Linked DNA regions of Homo sapiens: regions 2, 3, 4, 5 and 6 are each linked to region 1. Evidence: promoter capture Hi-C in human tissues and cell types (Jung and others, 2019). All regions are on one chromosome and are shown on one strand. Each heading gives the region's core, a stretch centred on a gene start or on the middle of the fragment in contact. The rest is flanking DNA. Distances are from core to core; before and after follow the strand shown. Region 1 holds the start of RFC2 (replication factor C subunit 2). Region 2 has its middle 30 kb from the start of MIR10525. Region 3 overlaps GTF2IRD1 (GTF2I repeat domain containing 1). Region 4 overlaps GTF2I (general transcription factor IIi). Region 5 holds the start of GTF2I (general transcription factor IIi). Region 6 overlaps GTF2IRD1 (GTF2I repeat domain containing 1).

What was found. The method cuts DNA at HindIII sites, captures the fragments that hold promoters and counts their contacts. A contact is called where the count stands out against the background at its distance.
Region 2: a fragment that was not itself captured here is called in contact with the fragment with the promoter of RFC2 in region 1 in 1 of the 25 tissues and cell types used here (dorsolateral prefrontal cortex).
Region 3: a fragment that was not itself captured here is called in contact with the fragment with the promoter of RFC2 in region 1 in 1 of the 25 tissues and cell types used here (lymphoblastoid cells).
Region 4: a contact is called between a fragment that was not itself captured here and the fragment with the promoter of RFC2 in region 1, in 1 of the 25 tissues and cell types used here (dorsolateral prefrontal cortex).
Region 5: the fragment with the promoter of GTF2I here is called in contact with the fragment with the promoter of RFC2 in region 1 in 1 of the 25 tissues and cell types used here (dorsolateral prefrontal cortex).
Region 6: a contact is called between a fragment that was not itself captured here and the fragment with the promoter of RFC2 in region 1, in 6 of the 25 tissues and cell types used here (H1 embryonic stem cells, IMR-90 fibroblasts, dorsolateral prefrontal cortex and 3 more).

Annotation. Positions count from the first base shown.
Region 1 is chr7:74,251,621-74,256,125 of GRCh38, forward strand. RFC2 (replication factor C subunit 2) reads right to left here and starts at 2,779. Exons shown (of 11, transcript NM_181471.3): 1 at 2,651-2,779; 2 at 809-878. The coding sequence starts at 2,763. RefSeq lists enhancers at 1,811-2,413, 2,414-3,016, 2,453-2,682, 3,017-3,619, 3,093-3,172 and 2 more and a silencer at 2,733-2,852. The HindIII fragment of the contact is 19,783 bases long and covers 1-4,505 here.
Region 2 is chr7:74,623,702-74,627,625 of GRCh38, forward strand. No RefSeq gene overlaps it. Among named protein-coding and RNA genes, the nearest start is that of MIR10525, 30 kb to the left of the region's middle. The HindIII fragment of the contact is 7,153 bases long and covers 1-3,924 here.
Region 3 is chr7:74,558,172-74,562,381 of GRCh38, forward strand. GTF2IRD1 (GTF2I repeat domain containing 1) reads left to right here. Exons shown (of 27, transcript NM_005685.4): 21 at 690-873; 22 at 1,456-1,484. Among named protein-coding and RNA genes, the nearest start is that of WBSCR23, 28 kb to the left of the region's middle. The HindIII fragment of the contact is 5,828 bases long and covers 1-4,210 here.
Region 4 is chr7:74,719,643-74,723,913 of GRCh38, forward strand. All of the region lies in intron 12 of GTF2I (general transcription factor IIi), which reads left to right. The region is part of intron 2 of GTF2I-AS1 (GTF2I antisense RNA 1); the gene reads right to left. Among named protein-coding and RNA genes, the nearest start is that of GTF2I-AS1, 7.1 kb to the right of the region's middle. The HindIII fragment of the contact is 4,068 bases long and covers 1-3,329 here.
Region 5 is chr7:74,655,748-74,659,791 of GRCh38, forward strand. GTF2I (general transcription factor IIi) reads left to right here and starts at 1,971. Exons shown (of 35, transcript NM_032999.4): 1 at 1,971-2,321. RefSeq lists silencers at 1,521-1,680, 2,051-2,230, 2,251-2,540, 2,611-3,130 and enhancers at 1,761-1,880, 1,901-1,950, 3,901-4,044. The HindIII fragment of the contact is 40,491 bases long and covers 1-4,044 here.
Region 6 is chr7:74,584,594-74,588,600 of GRCh38, forward strand. All of the region lies in intron 22 of GTF2IRD1 (GTF2I repeat domain containing 1), which reads left to right. Among named protein-coding and RNA genes, the nearest start is that of MIR10525, 9.4 kb to the right of the region's middle. RefSeq lists enhancers at 2,607-3,194, 3,195-3,781, 3,261-3,310, 3,331-3,490. The HindIII fragment of the contact is 6,527 bases long and covers 1-4,007 here.

The DNA.
Region 1 (4,505 bases), core at 1,529-4,028:
AACCCCATCTCTACTAAAAATAAAAAAATTAGCCAGGCGTGGTGGCGTGTGCCTGTAGTCCCAGCTACTGGGGAGGCTGAGGCAGAAGAATTGCTTAAACCCAGGAGGCGGAGCTTGCAGTGAGCTGAGATGGCGCCACTGCACTCCAGCCTGGGCGACAGAGCGAGACTCCATCTCAAAAAAAAAAAAAAAAAAGGCCGGGCGCGGTGGTTCACGCCTGTAATCCCAGCACTTTGGGAGGCCGAGGTGGGCAGATCACGAGGTCAGGAGATCGAGACCATCCTGGCTAACACGGTGAAACCCCATCTCTACTAAAAATACAAAAAAAATTAGCCAGGCATGGTGGCGGGCGCCTGTAGTCCCAGTTACTCCGGAGGCTGAGGCAGGAGAATGGCGTGAACCCAGCAGGCAGAGCTTGCAGAGAGGCCAGATTACGCCAATGCGCTCCAGCCTGGGCGACAGAGGGAGGCTCCATCTCAAAAAAAAAAAAAAAAAAAAAAAAAAAGGCCAGGTGTGGTGGCTCACGCCTGTAATCCCAGCACTTTGGGAGGCCGAGGCGGGAGGATCATGAGGTCAGGAGATTGAGACCATCCTGGCTAACACGGTGAAACCCCGTCTCTACTAAAAATACAAAAAATTAGCTGGGTGTGGTGGTGGGCACCTGTAGTCCCAGCTACTGGGGAGGCTGAGGCAGGAGAATGGCATGAACCCGGGAGGCGGAGCTTGCAGTGAGCGGAGATCGCACCACTGCACTCCAGCCTGGGCGACAGAGCGAGACTCTGTCTCAAAAAAAAAAAAAGCCACTCACCTCTAGCCTGCTCACGGTGTCTTCATTCCCGACAATTTCATTCAGCTTTACTGGCCTATATTTTTCAACCCTGTTAAGAAAATGCATAAAAATGCTGACATGGTTATCTTCACACTACCCCACAAAAAGCACCTAAGGGTTATCCTGAGAGCTTTGTTAAAAAATTACATACATTCAGTACAACTATGCCAAATGGTTGCAAGTTTTAAATGTAATAAGATGACAGCCAGGCGCAGTGGCTCACACCTGTAATCCTAGCACTTTGTGAGGCTGAGGCGGGTGGATCAATTGAGGTCAGGAGTTTGAGCCCAGTCTGGCCAACATGGTGAAACCTCATCTCTACTTAAAATACAAAAATTAGCTGGATGTGGTGGTGTGCGTCTGTAATCCCAGCTACTTGGGAGGCTAAGGCACAGTAGCTCGAACCTGGGAGGCAGAAGTTGCAGTGAGCTGAGATCATGCATGCCACTATACTCCAGCCCGGGCTACAGAGTGAGACTCTGTTTCAAAAATAAATAATAAATAAATAAAATGTAATAAGATGCCCAAGTGCCATTTGAAAAGTTAAAGGCATGAGAATTGTACAGCATAGGCTTCAAACCTGCCACAGCAGAGAAACACCTGTTGCTGCTGGAGCACGGCCAGCACAGGTCATCTGGAGCAATGTGACACTGTGCTGCAACCCTGTCCGCCCGTCACAAGAGGCCCAGCACATACAGCACTGACATCATTTGGTGTGACAACATGGGTGCAACCAAGCTCCTTTCTCATCCCTTACCTGCCAGTTTCTTTTCTTTTTTTTTTTTTTGGAGACAGAGTTTTGCTCTTGTTGCCCAGGCTGGAGTGCAATGGTGCGATCTTGGGTCACTACCAACCTCAGGTGATCTGCCCACCTCAGCCTCCCAAAGTGCTGGGATTACTGGCGTGAGCCACCATGCCAGGCAAGGATTACCTGCCAGTTTCTGCAGACGTGTGCCAAATACACAGCATAGCTGGCTAGACACCGTAGGCCTAGGCTGGGTACAGTGGCTCATGCCTGTAATCCCAGCACTTTGGGAAGGCGAGGCGGACGGATCACTTGAGATCAGGACTTCGAGACCAGCCTGGCCAACATGGTGAAACCCAGCCTCTACTAAAAACACAAAATTAGCAGGGTGTGATGGTACATGCCTGTAATCCCAGCTACTAGGAAGGCTGAGGCAGAATTGATTGAACCAGGGAGATGCAGGTTGTAGTGAGCAGAAATCACACCACTGCACTCCAGCCTGTGTGACAAAGTGTGACTCCATCTAAAAAAAAAAAATTAACTGGGCATGGTGGTGCGTGCCTGTAGTCCCATCTACTTAGGAGGCTGAGGCAGGGGGATCACTTGAGCCAAGGAGCTGGACATCAGCCTGGGCAACACAGCAAAACCCCCGTCTTGATTTTTTTAAAAAAATTTCAAATGTAAATGTTATTGAACCTAACAGTCAAAATATTATTTTCAACATGTAATCGATATTTTTTTTAAAAGATTGAAGTTTTTGAAAACACTAGGTCATACACTACTATACACAAAAACTTTTGAAAAAACCAACTAGGTCAGAGTAGGTGGCCACCCGGGGTAGCCCTAATTGTCATAAGCATTGTAGTGAGCGAGACTCCGCTCGCAGAGTTTAGACCGGCCACTCTCGATCCATGTCCGTCGCCTTCTTGAAATCATCTCGATGCCACCCGGGGCCTCCTCCTCCCTCGGGATTCCCCAAAACGAGCCCCTGACCCCCGAGTTTCTCCGGAGCACGGCCCGCCACTCGCCCACCCTCACGTCCAAACGCGCCCATTCTTTACGGCCTGGGACCTCACCACGGCAGTTCGTAGTGGCCGGCGCTGCCGGGGGCCTTGCTGAAGGCAGGGGCAGGGTCAGAGTCCTGGGCCTCCACCTCGCCCGCGCCACCACAGACGGCCTCCACCTCCATTCTCGCGCCTCCTCTTCCCGCCACCCGAGGCACCGCCCCTTGACGCCGCCACGCAAGCCCCGCCCCCTGGCTTCCGCCGGGCGCGAGCGGAAGTTACGTACCCGCGCCTCTCTGTGCCTGCGAAGAGGGTTCCGGTGGTGCCCTGGCGGCCATCGCTGGAGGCCGCGGTTGCTATGGGAGACCTGGCGCCCGGCCTGGGAGCGACAGGAAGGCGAGCTGTGGCCGCGACGCCTTCCGAGAAAGCAGGTCGCTCTCGGAACGGACGTTTGTGTGTGGTTTCTGTGGAAGATCCGCTCCGCGGCGGCGTGGGAGGAGCAGGGCCTGGAGGGGTTGCGGCCAAACGCGGGCTTCGGTGTTGGGACACGGACAACGCTGGCGTCCGGGCGCTGCTGGGCAGCGGGGTCCGGGGATGACGTCTGGGGCTGCCCGTGCCCACTTTTCCAGATTGCTCTGAATGTCCTAGTGAGCTGCTCCCGTTGGGTAGGCTCCTGCGCCTCAACCGCGCTCGGTACTCGACGTTTATTATCAGGGAATTCTCGGCTGCAAGATGGGAATTCCACCCCCACCCCATTTTGCAGAGGAGGAAACTGAAACCGTCCTTTTGTCAGATGAAATGCAATGTTCATTCCAGGAAAATAGGGACTCAAGGCCGGTGCGGTGGCTCACCCCTCTAATCCCAGCACTTTGGGGGACAGAGACCGGAAGAGCGATTAAGCCCAGGAGTTCGAGACCAGCCTGGGCAACAAAGTGAGATCCCCGTCTCTACAAAAATAAAAATTAAAAAAGTAGCCGGGCGTGGTGGCGCGCACCTGCAGTTCCAGCTACTCAGGAAGCTGAGGCGGAGGAGTGCTTGAGCCCAGGAGGTGCAGGCTGCAGTGATCTCTGATCACACCACTGCACTCCAACCTGGTCTGCAGCAAGACCCTGTCTCAAAAAAGAAAAAGTAAATACTTCAACCTTGCAAGGGTTTTGAGCATTCTTATGGGCTGTTTTTCTACCCAATCTTTCCTCCCATAGCCCAAATTGTCATAATATTCAATAATGATGATCCCAGAACTTTGGGAGGCTAAGGTGGGAGGATCCCTCAAGCCGAGGAGTTTGAGACCAGCCTGGGCAACATGGTGAGACCCCATCTCTACAAAAAAAATTTTTTAAATTATCCAGTTGTGGTGGTACGCGACAGTAGTCCCAGTTACTCGGGAGGCTGAGGCAGGAGAATCGGTTGAGCCCATGAGGTTGAAGCCACAGTGAACCATGATCAAGTCAATGTACTCCAGCCCCGGGGGACAGAGTGAAATCCTGTTTCTAAAAAAATAAGAAGAAAAGAAAGTAGGTACTTCAGATTCACAAGTGCTTTGACCATTCTTTGTTTTGTTTCTTGTTTTTTGTTTTTGAGATGGAGTCTCACTCTGTCACCCAGACTGGAGTACAGTGGTGTGATCTCAGCTCACTGCAATGTCAGGCTCCCAGGTTCAAGTGATTCTCCTGCCTCAACCTCCCGAGTAGCTGGGACTACAAGCGTGTGCCACCACACCTGGCTAATACTTGTATTTTCAGTAGAGATGGGGTTTCGCCACGTTGACCAGGCTGGTCTCAAACTCCTGACTTCAAGTGATCCGCTTGCCTCAGCCTCCCAAAGTGCTGGGATTACAGGTGTGAGCCACCGCGTCTGGCCAAGCAGTTGGTTTTAACGATAGTATTAACGTATACAGATTCACAACTTAACACAGTGTTTTTCTTTC
Region 2 (3,924 bases), core at 10-2,509, 370 kb after region 1:
CAGTAAGCCAAGATTGCGCCACTGTCCTCCAGCCTGGGTGACAGAGAGACTATTTTTATCTGTCTCCAAAAAAATAAAAAAATAAAAAAAACGAAACAAGAATTATCTGGAATTCAGCCGTAGGAAGGTTTTTTCAGGTGTGCGTGAAAGAACACAGGCATGAAATATCCTGTCTGGCATGTGGCAGTATGTTTGTTACTGAAATGTTCTTAAAATAACAGAGATGAGCCAGGCGTAGTGGCTCACGCCTGTAATCCCAACACTTTGGGAGGCTGAGGCAGGCGGATCACTAGAGGTCAGGAGTTTGAGACCAGCCTGGCCAACATGGTGAAACCCCATCTCTACTAAAAATACCAAAAAAAAAAAAAAAAAAAATTAGCTGGGTGGGTGTGGTGGTGGGTGCCTGTAATCTCAGCTACTCGGGAGGCTGAGGCAGGAGAATCGCTTGAACCCAGGAGGCAGAGGTTTCAGTGAGCCGAAATCGCGCCACCGCACTCCAGCCTGGGAGACAGAGTGAGACTCCGTCTCAAAAAATAAAATAAAATAAATAACAGAGATGAAGTTCTGTAAAGAACAATTTTCATAATCCTTAGCTCCTCTTTGCTAATTTGAATTACAACAGAAATACTATTTCTTTTTTTAATTAATCCCAGCACTTTGGGCGACCAACGCAGGAGGATTGCTTGAGCCCAGGAATTCGAGATTAGCCTGGGCAACATAGGGAGACCTTGCCTCTACAAAAAATTTAAAAATTATCCAGGTGAAGTGGCACATGCCCGAAGTCCCAGCTACTCTGGAGGCTGAGGTGGGAGGATCACTTGAGCCCAGGAGATTGAGGCTGCAATAAACTATGATGGCCCCACTGTACTCCAGCCTGGGCAACAGAGTGAGACCCTGTCTCAAAAAAAAAATTAATTAAATTGAAAGAAAAAGAGAAAAAGAGGCTGAGTGTGGTGGGAAAATCAAGTGGGAAGATCACTTGAGGCCAAGAGTTCAAGACCAGCCTAGGCAACATAGTGAGACCCTGGTCTCTATACTTAAAAAATAAAATAAAAAGAAATCTTGGGCCGGGTGCAGTGGCTCATGCCTGTAATCCCAGCACTTTGGGAGCCGAGGCAGGTGGATCATCTGAGGTCAGGAGTTCGAGACCAGCCCGGCCAACATGGTGAAACCCCGTCTCTATTTAAAATACAAAAATTAGCCAGGCATGCCAGGCGCAGTGGCTCATGCCTGTAATCCCAGCACTTTGGGAGGCTGAGGTGGCTGGATCACGAGGTCAGGAGTTCAAGACCAGCCTGGCCAACATGGTGAAACTCCATCTTTACTAAAAATACAAAACTTAGCCACACGCAGTGGCAGGAGCCTGTAATCCCAGCTACTCAGGAAGCTGAGGCAAGAGAATCACTTGAACCCAGGAGACAGGGTTTGCAGTGAGCCAAGATCATGCCACTGCACTCTAGACTGGGCAACAGAGCAAGACTCTGTCTCCAAAAAAAAATTAGCTGGGCATGGTGGCGCACACCTGTAATCCCAGCTACTTGGGAGGCTGAGGCACAAGAATCAGTTGAACCCAGGAGGCAGAGATTGCAATGAGCCGAGATCTCACCACGGTACTTCAGCCTGGGTGACAGAGCAAGACTCCATCTCAATTTAAAAAAAAAAAAAAGAAAGTTTTTTTTTTATTTCTAAGCACATTGTTAGAATATTCTAACCACTTTCAAACTGACCCACGATGATAAAACTGCAGTTTCAGGCCAATGATTCCCAGGGGAAATAAGGGAACTTTATACAATGGTGATCTAAGGGAACTTTACACAACGTTGTTGACTAGAGGAACACTCTGGAAGACAGCGAATGTGGATTCTTGCCTAAACTGGAAGTTTATAAAAATTTTCCATGAGGTGGCAGCAGTTCTTCAAGTAGTTGTGAAAAATGATCTTGTTTGAAATTTATATTTTCTTTTTTTTTTTTTTTTTTTTTTTAGAGACAAGGTCTCGCTGTGTCACCCAGGCTGGAGTGCAGTCCTGTGATTATAGCTCACTGCAACCTTGACCTCCTGTGCTCCAGCAATCCTCCTGCCTCAGTCCTCCAAGTAGCTGGGATTACACATGCAAGCCACCATGTCCAGCTAATTTTCTTTTTATTTTTTTGTAAAGATGGAGTCTTGCTCTGTTGCCCAGGCTGGTCTCAAACTCTTGGCCTCAAGAGATCCTCCCAGTTTGGCCTCTCAATTAGATTTCCTTTCTTTCCTTTCTTTTTTCCCTCCTTCCCTCCCTCCCTCCCTCCTTTCCTTCCTTCCTTCCTTCCTCCTTTCTCTTCTTTTTTTTTTTTGAGACAGAGTCTCGCTCTTGTTGCCCAGGCTGGAGTGCAATAGCACAATCTCAGCTCACTGCAACCTCTGCCTCCTGGGTTCAAGCAATTCTCCTGCCTCAGCCTCCCAAGTAGCTGGGATTACAAGTGCCCACCACCACAACCGGCTACTTTTTGTATTTTTTTTTTTTTTTTTTTTTTTTGAGACGGAGTCTCGCTCTGTCGCCCAGGCTGGAGTGCAGTGGCGGGATCTCGGCTCACTGCAAGCTCCGCCTCCCGGGTTCACACCATTCTCCTGCCTCAGCCTCCCAAGTAGCTGGGACTACAGGCGCGTGCCACTACGCCCGGCTAATTTTTTTTTGTATTTTTAGTAGAGACGGGGTTTCACTATGTTGGCTGGATTGGTCTCAAACTCCTGAGCTCTGGTGATCCACCCACTCCCTCTCTCCCTCCCTCTCTTCCTTCCTTCCTTCTTTCATTCCTTTCGTCCTTCCTTTCTTCTTTCCTCCCTCCCTCCCTTCCTTCTTTTTCTTTCTTCTTTCTTTCTCTTTCTTTTCTTTGCTTTGTTTTGCTTTGCTTTCTTTTTCTTTCTCCACCACAGAGGTCTCTTTCATACACTTGGATTTGTCTGTTTAAATAAAACCTATGATTTAAAATATATATATAAAGGCCAGGCATAATGGCTCATGCCTGTAATCCCAGCACTTTGGGAGGCCGAGGCGGGTGAATCCCTTGAGGTTAGGAGTTCAAGACCAGCCTGGCCAACATGATGAAACCCCGTCTCTACTAAAAATGCAAAAATTGGCCAGGTGTGGTGGCACACTCCTGTAATCCCAGCTACTCAGGAGGCTGAGGCAGGAGAATCACTGCACCTGGGAGGAGGAAGTTGCAGTGGGCCGAGATTGCACCACTGCACTCCAGCCTGGGCCACAGAGCAAGACTCCATCTCAAAAATACATATATACATATATATATATTTTGTTTTTTTAGACAGTTTTTTTTTTTGTTTTTTTTTTGTTTTTTTTTTTTTGTTTTTGAGACAGAGTCTTGCTCTGTCACCCAGGGTGGAGTGCAGTGGGTCAATCTCAACTCAGTGCAACCTCCGCCTCTGGGGCTCCGCCATCCTCCCCACTCAGCCTCCCAAGTAGCTGGAACTACAGCTGTACACCACCATAACTGGCTAATTTTTGTATTTTTTGTGTGTGGAGATGGGAGATTTCGCCGTATTTCCCAGGCTGGTCTCAAATTCCTGACCTTAAGTTATCCGCCTGCCTCGGCCTCCCAAAGTGCTGGGATTACAAGCATGAGCCACCTCGGCCGGAACAATTTAAAAATATTTAAAGTCGTTTTAAGTGTCACTCTTTTCTTAACAGTATTTTCTACCAATTAATGCCAACTGAGGTTCTTCTATCTTTCAAGTCCATTTCCAAACAGTCTAAGGAAAGATGCAAAATTCAATTTCCACTCCAGCTACTGGAAAGCAGTATTTAATTTTAGTCCTGCCAAACAAAATGAAGCAAGCGGTAAGTGATTGTGGCACATGGAAGTGTTTCATGCTTCAGACCGATTGAGTTCGTTGTCCTTTACTTTCCACTCTGAGGCTGGCTGCCCTGT
Region 3 (4,210 bases), core at 818-3,317, 310 kb after region 1:
AGGAAGCTGAAGCAGGAGAATCGCTTGAGCCTGCGAGGGGGAGGTTGCAGTGAGCTGAGATCGCGCCATTGCATTCCAGCCTAGGCAACAAAAGCGAAACTCCGTCTCAAAAAAAAAAAAAAAAAAATGGAGCATATGACATGGGAGCATATTGGTGTGGCTTTTTCTTTCGTTTCTTTTTTTTTTTTTTTTTTTTTTTTTTTTTTGAGACAGGGTCTCACTCTGTCACCCATGCTGGAGTACAGTGGCGTGATCATGGTTCACTACAGCCTCAAACTCCTGGGCTCAAGCAATCCTCCTGCCTCAGCCTCCCAAGTGGCTGGAACTACACCCCACTGGGCACTACCATGCCCAACTAGTTTTTAGAAATTTTTAGTAAAGACAGGGTCTTGCTGTGTTGCCCAGGCTGATCTCGAACTCTTAGACTTAAGAGATCCTCCTGCCTTGGTTCCCCAAAATGCTGGGATTACGGGCATAAGCCACCATGCTGGCCTTTTTTTTATGTTCTGATCAAACAGCTCAGATTGTAATGCCTATACCTTTCCACAGTGCTACACTACATAAGAGCTTTCTCGTACCATTCACTCTCCTGCACGCATGTCTTTCCATCACATCCCCGCAATCCCATGTACACACACCCCACGCTGCCTCTCACTCCTGACGGGCAGGACCCTGCCTCTCGCCCACAGGGGAAGCCTTGGGCATCAAGTACCCGGTCCAGGTCCCCTACAAGCGGATCAAGAGTAACCCCGGCTCCGTGATCATCGAGGGGCTGCCCCCAGGAATCCCGTTCCGAAAGCCCTGTACCTTCGGCTCCCAGAACCTGGAGAGGATTCTTGCTGTGGCTGACAAGATCAAGTTCACAGTCACCAGGTACTCAGTGGGAAGGGTGAGGGTGAAGAGGCAGGACTAGCTCAGATGGGAGCTTGCACCTGCGAATCCTTAGCCTTTCCCTAGGTCCTGCCCTCCCCCCTGGACAAGGTGGCTCTCCTGGCACCATCCTGGGTCCTGGGGGTGGTTGGAGAGGGACTGCAGGCCAGCCCAAGTGAAGGGAGCCCTTCAGAAGTGGGACTGGTCACCCCCCCATGGCAAGGGCAGCCTTTGAGGGCATCTTCAACCTGTTCAGCAACACCCGCTCACTGCACCCCCAGCCCCCGGGAAAGGTATTCAGCCCCCATCAGAGGGATTTGCCCAAGGTCCCGGGGCCAGCCAGGGCAAAGCCTGCACAAGGCCCAGGTCTGCGTCCTGCAGAGTGACACTGCCAATGCCAGCACCCTGCCACATTGTCTCAGTGTCCCGCACACACAGAGCCCCAGGGCAGCTTGTTAAAATGCAGATTCTGCTGCTGTAGGTCTGGGGTGCTCCCAGGGGAGACCGAGGCCACTGAATCCCAGGGGTGTCTTCCTCATCCCCCAGGCCCTCCCCATGACACCCCTGCCTCTGTTTCTCTTCTAGGCCTTTCCAAGGACTCATCCCAAAGCCTGGTAAGAGGCACTGGCTGTGGAGGGGGCACTGGGAATAGGGCCCGATCGTGGTGCTGGGGACTGGAGCTAAGCCTGCTGTGGGGCACAGGTTCTGGGGTCTGGGAACAGAAGCCAGGCCCCTGCCTTTCTTTTTTTTTTTTCTGAGGCAGAGTCCTTCTCTGTCACCCAGGCTGGAGTGCAGTGGCTTCATCTCGGTTCACTGCAACCTCCACCTCCTGGATTCAAGCAATTCTCCTGCCTCAGACTCCTGAGTAGCTGGGATTACAGGCAATTGTCACCATACCTGGCTATTTTTTGTATTTTTGGTAGAGACGGGGTTTCACCATGTTGGCCAGGGCTGGTCTCAAACTCCTGACCTCAAGTGATCCACCCACCTCGGCCTCCCAAAGCGTTGGGATTACAGGCGTGAGCCACTGCGCCCGGCCTAGGCCTCTGCCCTTCTGTTTAGCCACCTTACCTGGGCTCCTGCCCCAGGTAGATGGAGGAAGACTAAGCTTGAATGTGGCCCCAGATCCTGGGACAGAGAAAGGGGTGGTGGCGTCAGTGACTTCTAAGTTTTACCCAGTCTGGGTTCAGGAGGGAGGGGCCAGGCCGAGTCAGTGCACCTGCTCCTCCTGATAAAGGGGCTCTGGTTGACCTCAGTGAATAGGCGAGGTTGGAGGTGAGTGGGTTCCTAACCGCAGAAGGAGGGGTGTCTGCATGGGGACCACAAGCATGTTGGTAAGATGTGGGTGGCGCCTACCCTGCCTTAAACAGTGCAGTGCCTCTCCTGACCCTTTTTAAAAAAATATTTTATATATATAATAAAATATATACATAATAAAAAATATATATAATAAAAATATTATATATAATTAAAAATATTTATATAATTAAAATATTATATATAATTAAAAATATTATATATATAATAAAAAATATTATATAGAGAGAGAGAGAGACAGAGACAGACCAAGTCTCACTTTGTTGCCCAGGCTGGAATGCAATGGCACTATCTCTGCTCACTGCAAACTCCACCTCCCAGGTTCAAGCTATTCTGCCTCAGCCTACCAAGTAGCTGGGATTATAGGTGGGCACCACCATGCCCGGCTAATTTTTGTGTTTTTAGTAGAGCTGGGTTTCACCATATTGGCTAGGCTGGTCTCAAACTCCTGGCCTCAAGTGATCCTCCTGCCTCAGCCTCCCAAAGTGCTGGGATTACAGGCATGAGCCACCACACCCGACCTCCTGACCCTTTTTAAGGCACCCATCCACTTCTGTCTCCACCATGGACTGTGTCCTGGCCTCCCAAACCCAGATTTGCAGGGGCTGTCCCTGCAGGGTGATCCCAAACCCAGATTTGCAGGGGCTGTCCCTGCGGGGCGACATGCCACTTGGCAAGCACTAAGGGCTGGCCAGAGCCTCCAGGGCGGGCCAGGCACGGTGGCTCACACCTGTAATCCCAGCACTTTGGGAAGCCAAGGCAGGAGGATCACTTGAGGTCAGGAGTTCGAGATCAGCCTGACCAACATGGTGAAACCCCATGTCTATTTAAAATCCCAAAATTAGCCAGGTGTGGTGGCGCACACCTGTAATCCCAGCTACTTGGGAGGCTGAGGCAGGAGAATCACTTGAACCCGGGAGGCAGAGGTTGCAGTGAGCCGAGATCGCGCGACTGCACTCCACCTTGGGCGACGGGACTAGATTGTCTCAAAAAAAAAAAAAAAAAAAGAACTTAGGGTACAGTGATGTGGCGGCTGCTGACAGGCCACGGGAACCCCCAGAAGGGGGATCAGGAGGGTGAGGGGTAGTTGGAGAGGGTTTCCTGGAGTAAGGATGGCCCTGCTTGGGCCTCAGGGGAAGATGGGACTTTGAGAGGCAGAGAGGAGGGTGGGTTTGGCGGGGTGAACGGCAGGGGTTGGGGGGTCACTGGATGCCAGAAGTGTGTTTCCGGAGCTCTCGGAGGGGCAGAGTGGTCAGATGATGTTGGAAAGGTGGAGAGAGTGGAAGCTGCAGCAGCACAGTGCAGTGAGTGTGGCTCCAGTGGACACCCGGCTGAGAGGTCACTGGGTTTCTGGCCCTGCACTGGTGCTTTATGCGGGTGCCTTTCACACATATTTTGGGAGGTCCTGCTGGGACAAGGTGGTATTCTAGAGGAACTAGGGTTACAGCAGAGTGCAGACAGAGGAGGCATCTCATTTAGTCTTCATAGCTAGGAGGTTGACGCTAGAGCCCACCTTACAGAGGGGGAGACTGAGGCTCGGTGTGAGTGATGTGTTAATACTCTGTGTCCCAGGGCTAGCAGGTGGTCGTGGCCTCAGCCCTCAGGGATGGACCTGCCAGCCCCTTTCCAGGCGTTGGCACCCAAGCCAGGTATCCACCAGGTATCCACACTTACTCATGCCACTAGTCATGCTGGGCTGGGAACACGTCCAGGCTCCTGGGAGTCTCTGAGGGTTCACCAGAGGTCACTGAGTGCTACTTCTGCACCAGAATGGGCTTTTCTCAAACTCTCCCTCACACGGTTCCCGAAGCCTGGCCTGGGCCAGCACCGGCAGTTCCAGGGTGAATCGGAGTGGAAGCTGGGGTCTGCTGGGGGAGGCAGGGGAAATAGCAGACCCCTTCATCTGGAGGCAGGTGTCCCAGGGCAGGTGGAGGGGTGGCAGATAGTTGCAGAGAGGCGGGTGGCTGGGGACAGTGCCCAGGAGTCAGCCTTCAGGGTCTTAGGCAGCATGTGGGCCATGGGA
Region 4 (4,271 bases), core at 46-2,545, 470 kb after region 1:
GGCACGGTGGCTCACACCTGTAATCCCAGCACTTTGGGAGGCCAAGGTAGGCAGATCACCTGAGGTCGGGAGCTCAAGACCAGCCTGACCAGCATGGTGAAACGCCCATCTCTACTAAAAATACAAAACTAGCTGGGTGTGGTGGTGCATGCCTGTAATCCCAGCCACTTGGGAGGCTGAGGCAGGAGAATCGCTTGAACCCTGGAGGCAGAGGTTGTAGTGTGCTGAGTTCACGCCATTGCACTACAGCCTGGGCGACAGAGTGAAACTCCATCTCAAAAAAAAAATTAAAATTAAAATTAATGTGTCACAATACTTGTGTAAGTTTCTTCCCCTGAAAGTACTTCTTTCTTGTGGTAAAATGTGAAAATGGTACAGTAAATTGTACAGTGGAAAGTTTTCTTCACCCTCACTCTGCTCCCAAGTCCCAATACTGAGGGATGTATGCCAGCTTATTGTGTCTACTTAGAGAAATAATTGCAGTACATATCTTGATGCGAAAATACACAGATGCTTTCAGCATACATTACAATGCACATTTTAAAATATTACATATTCCATAGGCCTCCCCCTCCCATAACTGCACATCTTGGTACTTTATTAGTTTTTTTTTCTAGCTGCTGCGTAACCTTTCTTGGTTTGCTGTCTGTCTCTCTTTCTCTCTTAATAACCTGTCACCTACTGATGTCACTTGGTTATTTCTAGTGTTTGACTACTCCAAACTACTCAACGTGTCTGTCTTCATTGCTTCTAAAATATAAGTCAATTAGTAGCTTCCACTTAATACAAGAAATCTTTTCATACTTCATGTGTTAACTTAATATACAGATTTCTTTTTTCATAAATATAATTTTTCTAATCTAAAACATTTTGCATTGTTTACAGTCCAGCATTAAATGGTTGAAATTTAATTCGTTTTTAGTGAGAAACCTCATTAACAGGAAAAAAACTTAAGAACATACAAATATTACAACTACTCAGCTGTGCCCTTTCTATGGAGATATTAATAGGAGGTTATTAAAATTATAAAAATAAAGCTTTTAGGGTAGGACTAATAACCATTTTGATTTGTCAAATCTTAAAGCAGATAGAAGCTGTATTTTTTTTTTTTTTTTTTTGAGACAGAGTCTGGCTCTGTCGCCCAGGCTGGAGTGCAGTGGTGCGATCTCGGCTCACTGCAAGCTCTGCCTTCCTGGTTCACGCCATTCTCCTGTAGAGGCTGTATTAAAATGGTTTAGAATGTAAATACTTGCTTTTATAGTATAAGACTTTTAAAGAAAGGTTACGAAAATCCAGAAATAAATGGCTCATGAACCTGAAGCTTATGTCAGCCTTTTGAACTTTAACTGTTTTGGATGGAGTAATAAATCTCTTTTCTTTTCATTTATTTGTTTATTTATTTATTTATTTGTTTTTGAGATGGAGTTTCACTCTTGTTGCCTAGGCTGGAGTGCATTGGCGCTATCTCGGCTCACCGCAACCTCCGCCTCGCAGGTTCAAGCGATTCTCCTGCCTCAGCCTCCTGAGTAGCTGGGATTACAGGCATGCGCCGCCATGCTCGGCTAATTTTGTATTTTTAATAGAGACAGGGTTTCTCCATCTTGGTCAGGCTGGTCTCGAACTCCTGACCTCAGGTGATCTGCCCACCTCGGCTTCCCAAAGTGCTGGGATTACAGGCATGAGCCACCGCACCTGGCCATTCATTTCTTTTAAACTAAGACATTGTGCCATAAGCCTGATTTAATGTTCACATTTGTGATTAAGTAGTAGAATTTTGCTAGTAGACCTCTTTCTTTTCAGAAGACCAGTGAAATACCAGGTCTGAGTAAAGTAATCCTTTTAAAAGGTAGCATTTTCCATGTCATATGTGCATATACACACACACATTTTATGTATTATATATAAAAAATATGTATATTATATAGAAATTACATCAACAATTAAATTCCTCATTTTTTTAAGAAGATAAAAAACTGTCTCAATATTAACAAGGAAGGTCAAGTGAGAACTTACATGCACACCTCTGGTTAATAATGTGTATCATATATTCTTTCTGGAAAGATTACTTCCAAATGGTAGGAGCTATTTAGATACCCGTAGTTAGGAAATAAAATTTTGGTATATCTTCATAACAGAAAAATATATAGCCATTGAAATCCTGATAATGTTTTCCAATAATCTGAAAAAAGATCTCTAATATAAAATGTTCAGTGGAAAAAAAAAAAATCCTGCCTTGAGAACAAGGCAACTTGAAAAGCAAAAGTGCATCTAGAGGATAATCTTAGTTTTGTTTTGGAAAATACTCATGCTTGGTAGGAAGACGGACAAAAATAAACTGAGATATTCCTGCTTGCTTGGAGACGACTTAATTTTCTCCTTTTATATCTTTTCACATTTCCCAAATCATTGGTAGAAAAAAAAACAGAACTTTGTTATCAAATAAGTCTGTCCGATTTTTCACAGTGTTTTCACCTCGATATCTTCATTTGCAATTATGTGGAGTTCTGAAGTGGCTAATTTGACACCGACGCGGACGTGTTTGTGGATACAGGGTCATTACTTACCCACTGCCGGTGCGCTCTGAGCTGTGCACTTCCATTTGTGGCGTTTTATTTGTACTTGGAGTCGGTGGTAAACATTTAAAACATACGTGACTTAGGTTTGGGAAATCGGCCTTGGACTAATAGGACCGCATGCCTCAGTTTTCGTAAACACCGTGACTACATTTCTGGGTTAAGGTGAATTGCCGTCAGGTATGTTATCTCTAATGTGTGCAGAGAAAACCTTATCAGACTTGTTTCAGGTCTAGCTGTCATGGGAGTGCTAAGAACCGTGTAAAGGAGGTTTCTTTCTTGCGCAGTTCTCTCTTAGGGCCTAGCTTCCCAAACCTGAGTCACTTACCTGTTACCTGTGTTCCTTCTGCTGTGGCCTAACTCTCTGTTCATTACTTAACCTGATTTTTTTCCCTTAAATTGATTTTAAGTAAATTCATTTTGTGATGAATTTTACGTCTTCCTAAGTCAAACTCTGGCTTTTTTATTTCTCATATTTTGAAAGGTATATGTAAATAATTTCAAATATAATTGACTCACATGACCACACGTGGCACACTTACTGCAGCTGGTACTGTAGGTTTTTTAGGATCTCTGTAATTGAGGAGGTTAGCGTTGGAAAACTTCTGTGTTTTTTATTTTTATAGCTGCCAATCAGACACTTAATGAATACACAATTATATATGTAAAAAAAGGAGTCTCAGAGGAATTATGTACTAAGATTTGAATAATACGTTTTTAGAGTTTCAGTATTTTAGTAGGGTTTATGATGGGCAGTTGGACTACCTACCATCCCTTTCTTGTGGAATTTATGTTTAAGATAGTGCCAGATACTTGACTGCAGCATATAATTAGGGACTAAACTATTCATATGTTCATTTAATCCCTCCACAAATACTGAGCACATTGTATGTACCAGGTGCTAAGAGTTTTTTTTTTTTTTTTTTGAGACGGAGTTTCGCTCTGTCGCCCAGGCTGGAGTGCAGTGGCGCAATCTCGGCTCACTGCATCCCCTGCCTCCCAGGTTTAAGCAGTTCTCTGCCTCAGCCTTCCTCCGAGTAGCTGGGATTATAGGCGCCCGCCACCATGCCTGGCTAATTTTTTTTGTATTTTTAGTAGAGACGGGGTTTCACCATTTTGGCCAGGGTGATCTTGAACTCCTGACCTCGTGATCCGCCCACCTCACCCTCCCAAAGAGCTGGGATTACAGGCATAAGCCACCGCTCCCGGCCTCTTTTTTTTTTTTTTTTTTTTAAGACGGAGTCTTGCTCTGTTGCCCAGGCTGGAGTACAGTGACCTGATCTCGGTTCTCCGCAGCCTCCGCCTCCTGGGTTCAAGTGATTCTCCTGCCTCAGCCTCTGGAGTAGCTGGAACTACAGGCACACGCCACCATGTCCAGCCAATATTTTACTTTTAGTACAGACAGGGGTTTCACCATGTTGGCCAGGCTGGTCTTGAACTCCTTACCTCAGGTGATCCACCCGCCTCGGCCTCCCAAAGTGCTAGGATTACAGGCATGAACCACCGCGCCTGGCCACGGTGCTAAGAATTTAGTAGTGAATAATTCAGTGGCAAATCCTCGGGAGTGTTTTGCAAATAAGAGTGACACTTTTTGTCCTTCACTTCTAGGAAACGTGGTGACTATGTTGAGAAAAGGGGGAAAAAAAAAAAAAGAGAAGACCTAGAGCAGTCAATAGTTTTTTGACAGAAAACTAGCTT
Region 5 (4,044 bases), core at 721-3,220, 400 kb after region 1:
TACAAAAATTAGCTGGGCGTGGTAGTGCACGCCTATAATCCTAGCTACTCAGGAAGCTGAGGCAGGAGAATCACTTGAACCCGGGAGGTAGACGTTGCCGTGAGCCGAGATCGCGCCACTGCACTCCAGCGTGGGTGACGGAGCGAGGCTCGGTCTCAAAAAAAAAATTCCACTGTGAACCACTAAACAAATTCATAGAAGAAAGGAACTACCTTCCAAACGTTTTCACGATGATAAGAGTCATCTTGGCTAAATAAACTTCTGCCTTGCTAACTCACTTTGTAACATCCCCCCAAATTCTACTCCACGACTCCACTATACCCAGGAAATCCTTTCCCTGACCCCTCCAGGTGGAGAAACCACTCTCTCAACAAAAGATACTCACTGAAGTCCACAGCAGCTGAAATCTGCATCTCGTAGGCTGGCTGCTCTTACTAGAGTGAGTTATAGGCTTCTCAAGAGTTAAATTTGTTCCTAAATATATGCCAGTGGCACGTGGTATTGGGAATAGAGAATTTAATTAAATATTACTAAATGTCAATGAAATACAAGTGCAAAAAGAAAGTTGCTCTTGTGCAAACTTAATGAATGACTTTCGAGACAATCGACAAAGGAGAGTCACAATCTTATTAGGCAAGGACCGAAGGGATCCTAGACATTGTCCGGGAAATCGCAAAAATTCAGGCTTCTGTAATCAGATTGCTTCTCCGGTGAGCTTTACGCTCTCCATGTATTTTTCAAAAAAAATCCAACATGAAAATTCTAGAGGAGGCTTTATTGGGTGCGGTCTGTGCAAGAGAGACGATGGGGAATGCCAATCGGAGAACCCAGATTGAAAGGAAAGGTTTTTGGAACCCACATCAAAAGACTGGCTGCTCGGAAAGTTTTCTCGCTAGCGACAAAGGCTTGGAGGCTGGAAAAAGCGTCGTGGTCGCCACCTACCGAGAAGCGGCGGGTGGGGGGAGGATGGCCGTCGTGGCCCGAATCCCCAGTGGGTGGTACTGGGTGGGGGGGCGGGCGGGAATCAAAAAACCACTCAATCTCGTGCTTTACATAAACATCTAAAAATCGTCGGCCTCGGGGTTGTAAAGTTTTGGAGTTTAACTTAGGTGAACAGTAATGTCTCTCCATTTTCAAAACCCACCGGCTAATTCAAGTTGAGAAGCAAAAAATAGTGGTAGGGGGAGGAGTTTGAGTTAAATCGCATCGCGGTTGACAGAACAAAACAGGAGCTACGAGTCAGGATTTCTGCTCCCACTCCCTTGCAAGTTTCCTTCCAAATCCTGAGGGAGAGATAGAGGCGGAGGGTCTGGGGGAGGAATTAAAACACAAGGTCTCCTCCCCTCTCGCCTGTCCGAACTTGGGGGCAACGGTCTCTTTGGAGGCCAGCTTGGAAAACACTAGAGAGGAGTTCTTTGTGTCCTGGAGGGTGGTGCAAGGCGGAAGGACTCCCCTTTTGCAGAGCAAGGAGGGCGACGGCCCAGCCCGGGGCTCCCCGGCTTTTGCAGCTTCCCTGCCTCGCAATTTGCAAGGAATGTGGGGTGCAAGAGCAAGTGGCGGACTTGGACGGCGGCTGGCGCTCGGTGGGGACGACGCCGGAGCCACCACCCGTCCAGATTTCCGTTTCTGCACCCCGGCTCCCCTCCCCCACCCGGGCGGCCGCGCAGGCCCCAGGTGCAGCCATGTTCTCGCTCCCACCACCCTCGCCTCCATTGACAGCCCTTGCTGGAGAGGGCCGGGCGCCGCGCTTGCCTCGTCCTCGGGTTCGGGGCTAGCCGGCGCGGTGCTTCCTGGGAGTTGTAGTCCACGACCGCCGCCGCCGCGTTGACGGGGAACGCATCCGAAACTACAACTCCCGCTGGGCGGCGCTGCGGATGCGCAGGCGCAACGCGCCTTCGAGGAACAAAAAAAAAAAAAAAAAAAAAAAAAAAGAAAAAAAAGAAAAAAAAAAGGAGGAGGAGGAGGAGGGTGAGAGAGAAGCTGGGAGAGCAGAGAAAAGGGGCCACCGGTCGCCCCCCCGCTTCCCCGCACGCGCTCTCCAGCCGCGGCCGCCCGCCTGCCGCGGTCACCCCGGCCTCTGCCTCTGTCCCCCAGTGATCGGATCAAGGCGCTGAGCGAGGCCCTGCCTGCGGGGCGGCCATGCGGCGGTGACAGGAGCGCGACCGACACGCACGGGCCCCTCGCCCCCTCTCGCCTCCCGTCCGCTCGCCAGCTCCCCTCAGCCGAGGCTGCTCCGCGGCGGCCGCAGCCCGCGCGCGGCCCACACTCGCCTCCCCTCGGCACCCCCGGCCCCGGAGCTGCCTGGAGGCGGCCGCACTCGGGTGAGTCCCTCTCGCCTCATCCCCGCGCCCCCCGCCCCCGCCTCGGGGGCCATTGCGAGCGGGGGCCTTTATTAGAGACTTTGCCCCGCCGGGGCCTGCAGGGACAGGGGCCTGGGAGCCGCGGCCCGCCGCGCGCGGTGTGGGGCCTTGGGGGGCGCCCGTGCCGCCTCCCCCTACCCCCACCCCCACCGCCTCGCCGGGTCTCGAGCCCCGCCGGCCTTGGCAGTGGCCGAAACGAGGCGATGGGGGTGGGGCGGCACGGACGCGGTCGCGGGGGACGACAGTGGCACGCGCGCGCCTCAGTGCGCGTGGGGGAGGGGCGCGCGCGCCGACCGGCGTGCGGTGGGGGGGCGCCTCGCGCGTGCGATCCCGCGCGCGAGCGAGCGAGCGGCCCTGCGGGCTGCGCATGCCCCGCCGCGCTGATTGGCCGGCTAGGCGGTGCGGGGGCGCGCGCGGTGCCAGGCCCGAGCCGTCGTGGGGTCGCGCTCGCCTGGTGTATCTGGGGCTCCTGCGCCGGGGCAGCAGACGCGCGGGATTGGCCAACCGGCGCGGGGGCGGGGCCGCGCGTTGCCTGGTAACTGCGGCGGGCGGGGGAGCGGGAGCGCTGTCCCCCGCCCCGCCCCGCTCCCAGGTGGAGTCCGCAGTGGGCTTTGTCCCGGGCCGGCCCGGCGCGCCTGCCCCGCGGGGCCTGTTCTTTGGGGGAAATAAACACAATGACCGGAAGGAAAACTTCAGCTTTAGGCCATGAAAATTAAGCCGTCTGGGTTCAGCCAGCACCCAGACGACGGGAGTGCAGAGGAAGAAGGAAAATGAAATGGAAAAAGCTGTCTCCTTCCCGCTCCCCGACTTCTCCACTTTTTCTTAATCCAGCTTTTGCTTTTTCGTGTAGCGAATTTTGTCCTCCCTAGGTTATGGATTTGCGCTGATTTGCGGCTGGGGATGTTCACAGGTGGGGTGCTGTTGGAGTAGTGTCCACTCTTGGCGATGCGCAGCTCTTGCTGACTACTGACCTCCTTTTTTTAAAAAAAATTATTTGTGGAGATGCGTTCTCACTTTGTTGCCCAGGCTGGTCTTGAACTCCTAGGCTCAAGCGATCCTCCCACCTTGGCCCCCCATAGTGCTGGGATTACAGGTGTGAGCCATCGCTTTCGGCTTAATTTTCTTTTTTTTTTTTAGAAACAGGGTCTCTCTGTGTTGCCCTGGCTGAAGCGCAGAGTGGCACAATCATAGCACATTGCAGCCTCCAACACCTGGGCTCCAGCGATCCTCCTGCCTCAGCCTCCTCAGTGGCTGGGACTACAGGCGCATGCCATCATGCCCTGCTAATTTTTTTTTTTTTGAGATGGAGTCTCACTCTGTGGCCCAGGCTGAAGTGCACTGGTGTGATCTCGGCTCACTGCAACCTCTGCCTCCCGGGTTCAAGCCGTTCTCCTGCCTCAGCCTCCTGAGTAGCTGGGATTACAGGCGTGCCCACCACGCCCGGCTAATTTTTGTATTTTTAGTAGAGATGGCGTTTCACCATGTTGGCCAGGCTGGTCTCCAACTCTTGAATCAAGCTGAAAGCAATCGGCCCGCCTCGGCCTGCCACCAAAGTGCTGGGATTACAGGCGTGAGCCACCGCCCTGGGTCACGCCTGGCTAATTTAAAATTTTTTTTTAGAGATGGGGTCTTCTTGTGTTGCCTAGGCTGGTCGGGAACTCCTGGACTCTGGTGATCCTCCCGT
Region 6 (4,007 bases), core at 20-2,519, 330 kb after region 1:
CTTATCTTTGTCCCCTGCCTGTGAAGATAAGCTGTGAATTTACATGGCCAGGGTGAGGGAGGCCACCAGGGGAGCTAGGTGGCCTTCTATCTTGCAGCCATCTGTTTAGGAACAAAAGGCTATTGCGTGACTCAGTTCCCAAGCTTAACATTTCCCTTTGGCATAGTAAGTTTGGGGTCCCATGTTTTTTGTTTGTTTGGGTTTTTTGTGTGTTGTTGTTGTTTTGAGATGAAGTCTCGCTCTTGTCCCCCAGGCTGGAGTACGATGGCGCGATCTTGGCTCTCTGTAACCTCCGCCTCCCAGGTTTAAGCGATTCTCCTGCCTCCGCCCCCGGAGTAGCTGGGATTACAGGCACCTGCCACCACGCCTGGCTAAATTTTGTACTTTTAGTTGAGACGGGGTTTCACCACGTTGGACAGGCTGGTCTCGAACTTCTGAGCTCAGGTGATCCACCCACCTCGGCCTCCCAAAGTGCTGGGATTACAGATGTGAGCCACCGCGCCCAGCCTGTTTGGTGTTTTTTTTTTTTTTTTTTTTGAGACGGAGTCTTGCTCTGTCGCCTAGGCTGGAGTGCAGTGGCGCAATCTCAGCTCACTGCAACCTCCACCTCCCAGTTCAAGGGATTCTCCTGCTTCAGCCTCCTGAGTAACTGGGATTACAGGCATGCACCACCACGCCCAGCTAATTTTTTGTATTTTTAGTAGAGACGGGGTTTCACCATGTTGGCCAGGCTGGTCTGGAACTCCTGACCTCAAGTGATCCACCTGCCTCGGCCTCTGAGAGTGCTGGGATTATAGGCGTGAGTCACCGTGCCCGGTCTGGGCCTCGTCTTTGAGAGGCCTGCTAAGCTTCTTTCTGTCCTGCAGGTTTCGTAGAGCTCTGACTTTGAGTCTCGCTCTGTCCCGACACAGGAGAAGACAGAGGTGTGGCATTGTGGGCTGAGAGCAACAGATTAGAGGAAACTATCTTAAAGATTAAGCCTTCTTTCTACAGCTACTGTAGGGGAGCCTGGGCATGGTGGTTCACGTCTGTAATCCCAGCACTTTGGGAGGCCGAGGTGGGCGAATCACCTGAGGCCAGGAGTTGGAGACCAGCCTGAGTAACATGGTGAAACCCCATCTCTACTAAAAATACAAAAATCAGCCAGGTGTGATGGTGGGTGCCTGTAATCCCAGATACTCGAGAGGCTGAGGCAGGAGAATCACTTGAACCCAGCAGGCAGAGGTTGCAGTGAGCCAAGATCGCACCACTGCACTCCAGTCCAGCCTGGGTGACAGAGCAAGACTCTTCCAAAAAAAAAAAGAAAAAGAAAGAAACTGTAGAGGAATCTGAGACCTCAGGAAACCCAGGGCTCATGGTAGAGTGGAAAGACCAGGGCTTTGGGGTTGACACAGAGTACTCCTGGTGCTTAGAGGCTGTGTGACCTTGGGCAAGTTTCTTTACCTCTCTGAGCCTCTGTGTCTTTGGCTGCAGTGTCTAGGAAAGCATCTGCACACAGTGATGTGTGTGATCCAGGCCATCCTTTCTCTGTTCTGTGCATGCATGGCCATGCCTGCTGAGAATCCTGCCACCAAAGATTCCTCAGTGGCATGGGGACAGATGGAATGTGCTGTTGCTTCCCTGCAGGCTCTAGGAGCTGGTCCTTGGGCCCAGGACTCCATCACTGTTGTCTGCATGGATTTGGACAAGGGTGGCCTTGATTCTTCCCACATCCTAGTCCTGAAAGGAAGGCCCGTGTTGGGTCACAGGAGAAGACGAGGGTTCTAGGGGATGTGGAGCGTGGGGTCTTTGTGTGGCTGAATTAGAGGCATTACTCCACGAGATAGGGACACGGGAGGAGGACGTTGTCTGGAATGGCTGATGTTTGCAGTGTCTCTGGGCACGCAGGGGGGCTGGCGGGCCGTGCCTGAAGACAGATCAGCAACTCAGAGATGTGCAGAGATTGCTGAGTGTGGGTGTGGACGGACCAGGCCAGGGACCTGCAGGGTTTGGGAGGACCTGAGGTGGTGGGTGTTGGAGCCCTGGGAAAAGGAGGAACCAGGCCAAGCAGGTGCCCAGCCTCTGTCCTGTGGGAAGCTCCCTGCTCTTTGGGGCAACCCCCACATGGGGAACAGGGCCTCCATTCTGGCAGCTTGCGCACGGGAGGCCAAGCCACCCAGACGGGGTCAGCAGACTCTAAGCAGCACAGAGCACCACGCCAGGAGATGCAGTTCCCAAGGCAGCCTCCTAAACAGAAGTGAGCTCTTCCCAGAGTTTTCAAGATTAAAAGAGCCAGACACAGTGGCTCACAACTGTAATCCCAGCACTTTCGGAGGCTGCGGACAGGAGGATCGCTTGAGCTTAGGAGTTCGAGAACAGCCTGTGCAACAGAGAGAGACTCTCTCTACAAAAAATTTTAAAAAAACTTAGTCTGGCATGGTGATTCATGCCTGGAGCCCCAGCTACTTGAGAGGCTGAGTGGGGAGGATTGCTTGAGCCAAAGAGTTCAAGGCTGCAGTGAGCTATGATGGCACCACTGTACTCCAACCTGGGAAACAGGGTGAGACCCTGTCTCAAAAAACAGGAGTCAGGCTGGGCACAGTGGCTCACGCCTGTAATCCCAGCACTTTGGGAGACCGAGGCAGGCAGATCACCTGAGCTCAGGAGTTTGAGACCACCCTGGCCAATATGGCAAAACCCCATCTCTACTAAATATACAAAAATTAACCGGACGTTGTGGCAGGCGCCTGTAGTCCCAGCTCTCAGGAGGCTGACGCAGGAGAATGGCTTGAACCTGGGAGGCAGAGGTTGCAGCGAACCGAGACCGTGCCACTGCACTCCAGCCTGGGCAACAGAGTGAGACTCTGTCTTGGAAAAACAAAAAGAAAAAAAAACAGGAGTCATTTTGCTCCAAAGACCCATCAGTCTGCTCTGCCCTGAATCATCCGGCCCTGGCTCCCTGCCTGCGTCTAGCTCCACCCCACAACATCTCACCCTTACCGAACCCGCCTGCCCCAAGAGGCCCAGCCCATGTGACCCCACGCTTCTCAGAGAGGAGATTTCCTGTTGGACATGCAAACCACCCTTCCTGCAATCCCAGCCCCGTCCTCAACCCTGGCACAAGCCCACAGGCTGCTGCAGAGCTCTGCCCCAGACCCCATCTCCAGCCCAACCCCCACTCAGCCTTACAGCCCAGCTCAGGCCCCATCTCCAGGGCTAACTGACTCCAGCAGCTCCTCTAGGCTACAGGGAGGGGAGAGCAGAGCACACCAGGGCTCAAGCAGCAGATAGGCCGTGACGGTTACCTGGGCAGTGAGCAGGGAGAATGCACGGCCCCCACACTCCCAGACACGGTCTGTTTCCCATTCACAGACCTTGGTCAGCGAGCGGTCAGGGGATTTCCAACAGCCCAGCACAGTGACACCGGCCCCTGTGCATGGACCCCACTAGGCCCATCAGTCATCTCCCCTGTACCACCCCAAAGTTCAGCCACTTCCAGGACATGGGATCTTTTTCTTTTTTTCTTTTCTTTTCTTTTTTTTTTTTTTTTTTGAGACGGAGTTTCGCTCTTGTTGCCCAGGCTGGAGTGCAGTGGCGCGATCTCAGCTCACTGCAACCTCCGCCTCCTGGGTTCAAGCAGTTCTCCTGTCTCAATCTCTTGAGTAGTTGGGATTACAGGTGCCCGCCACCACACTCGGCTAATTTTTGTATTTTTAGTAGAGACGGGGTTTCGCTATGTTGGCCAGGGTGGTCTCAAACTCCTGACCTCTGGTGATCTGCCAATCTCAGCCTCCCTCAGTGCTGGGGTTACAGGCGTGAGCCACCGCACCCAGCCAACACAAGATCTTTCACGCTTGAGTGCCTATGCATGGCTGGTCCTTCTGTCCTGGTGGCTTCCCACTGCCACTCCGTCCTTCACAAACTCCTACCTGCCTTTTTGGAGCCCATTTTTTGTTTGTTTGTTTGTTTTCATTTTTGTTTGAGACAGGTCTCTGTCTCCCGGGCTGGACTGCAGTGACGTGATCTCT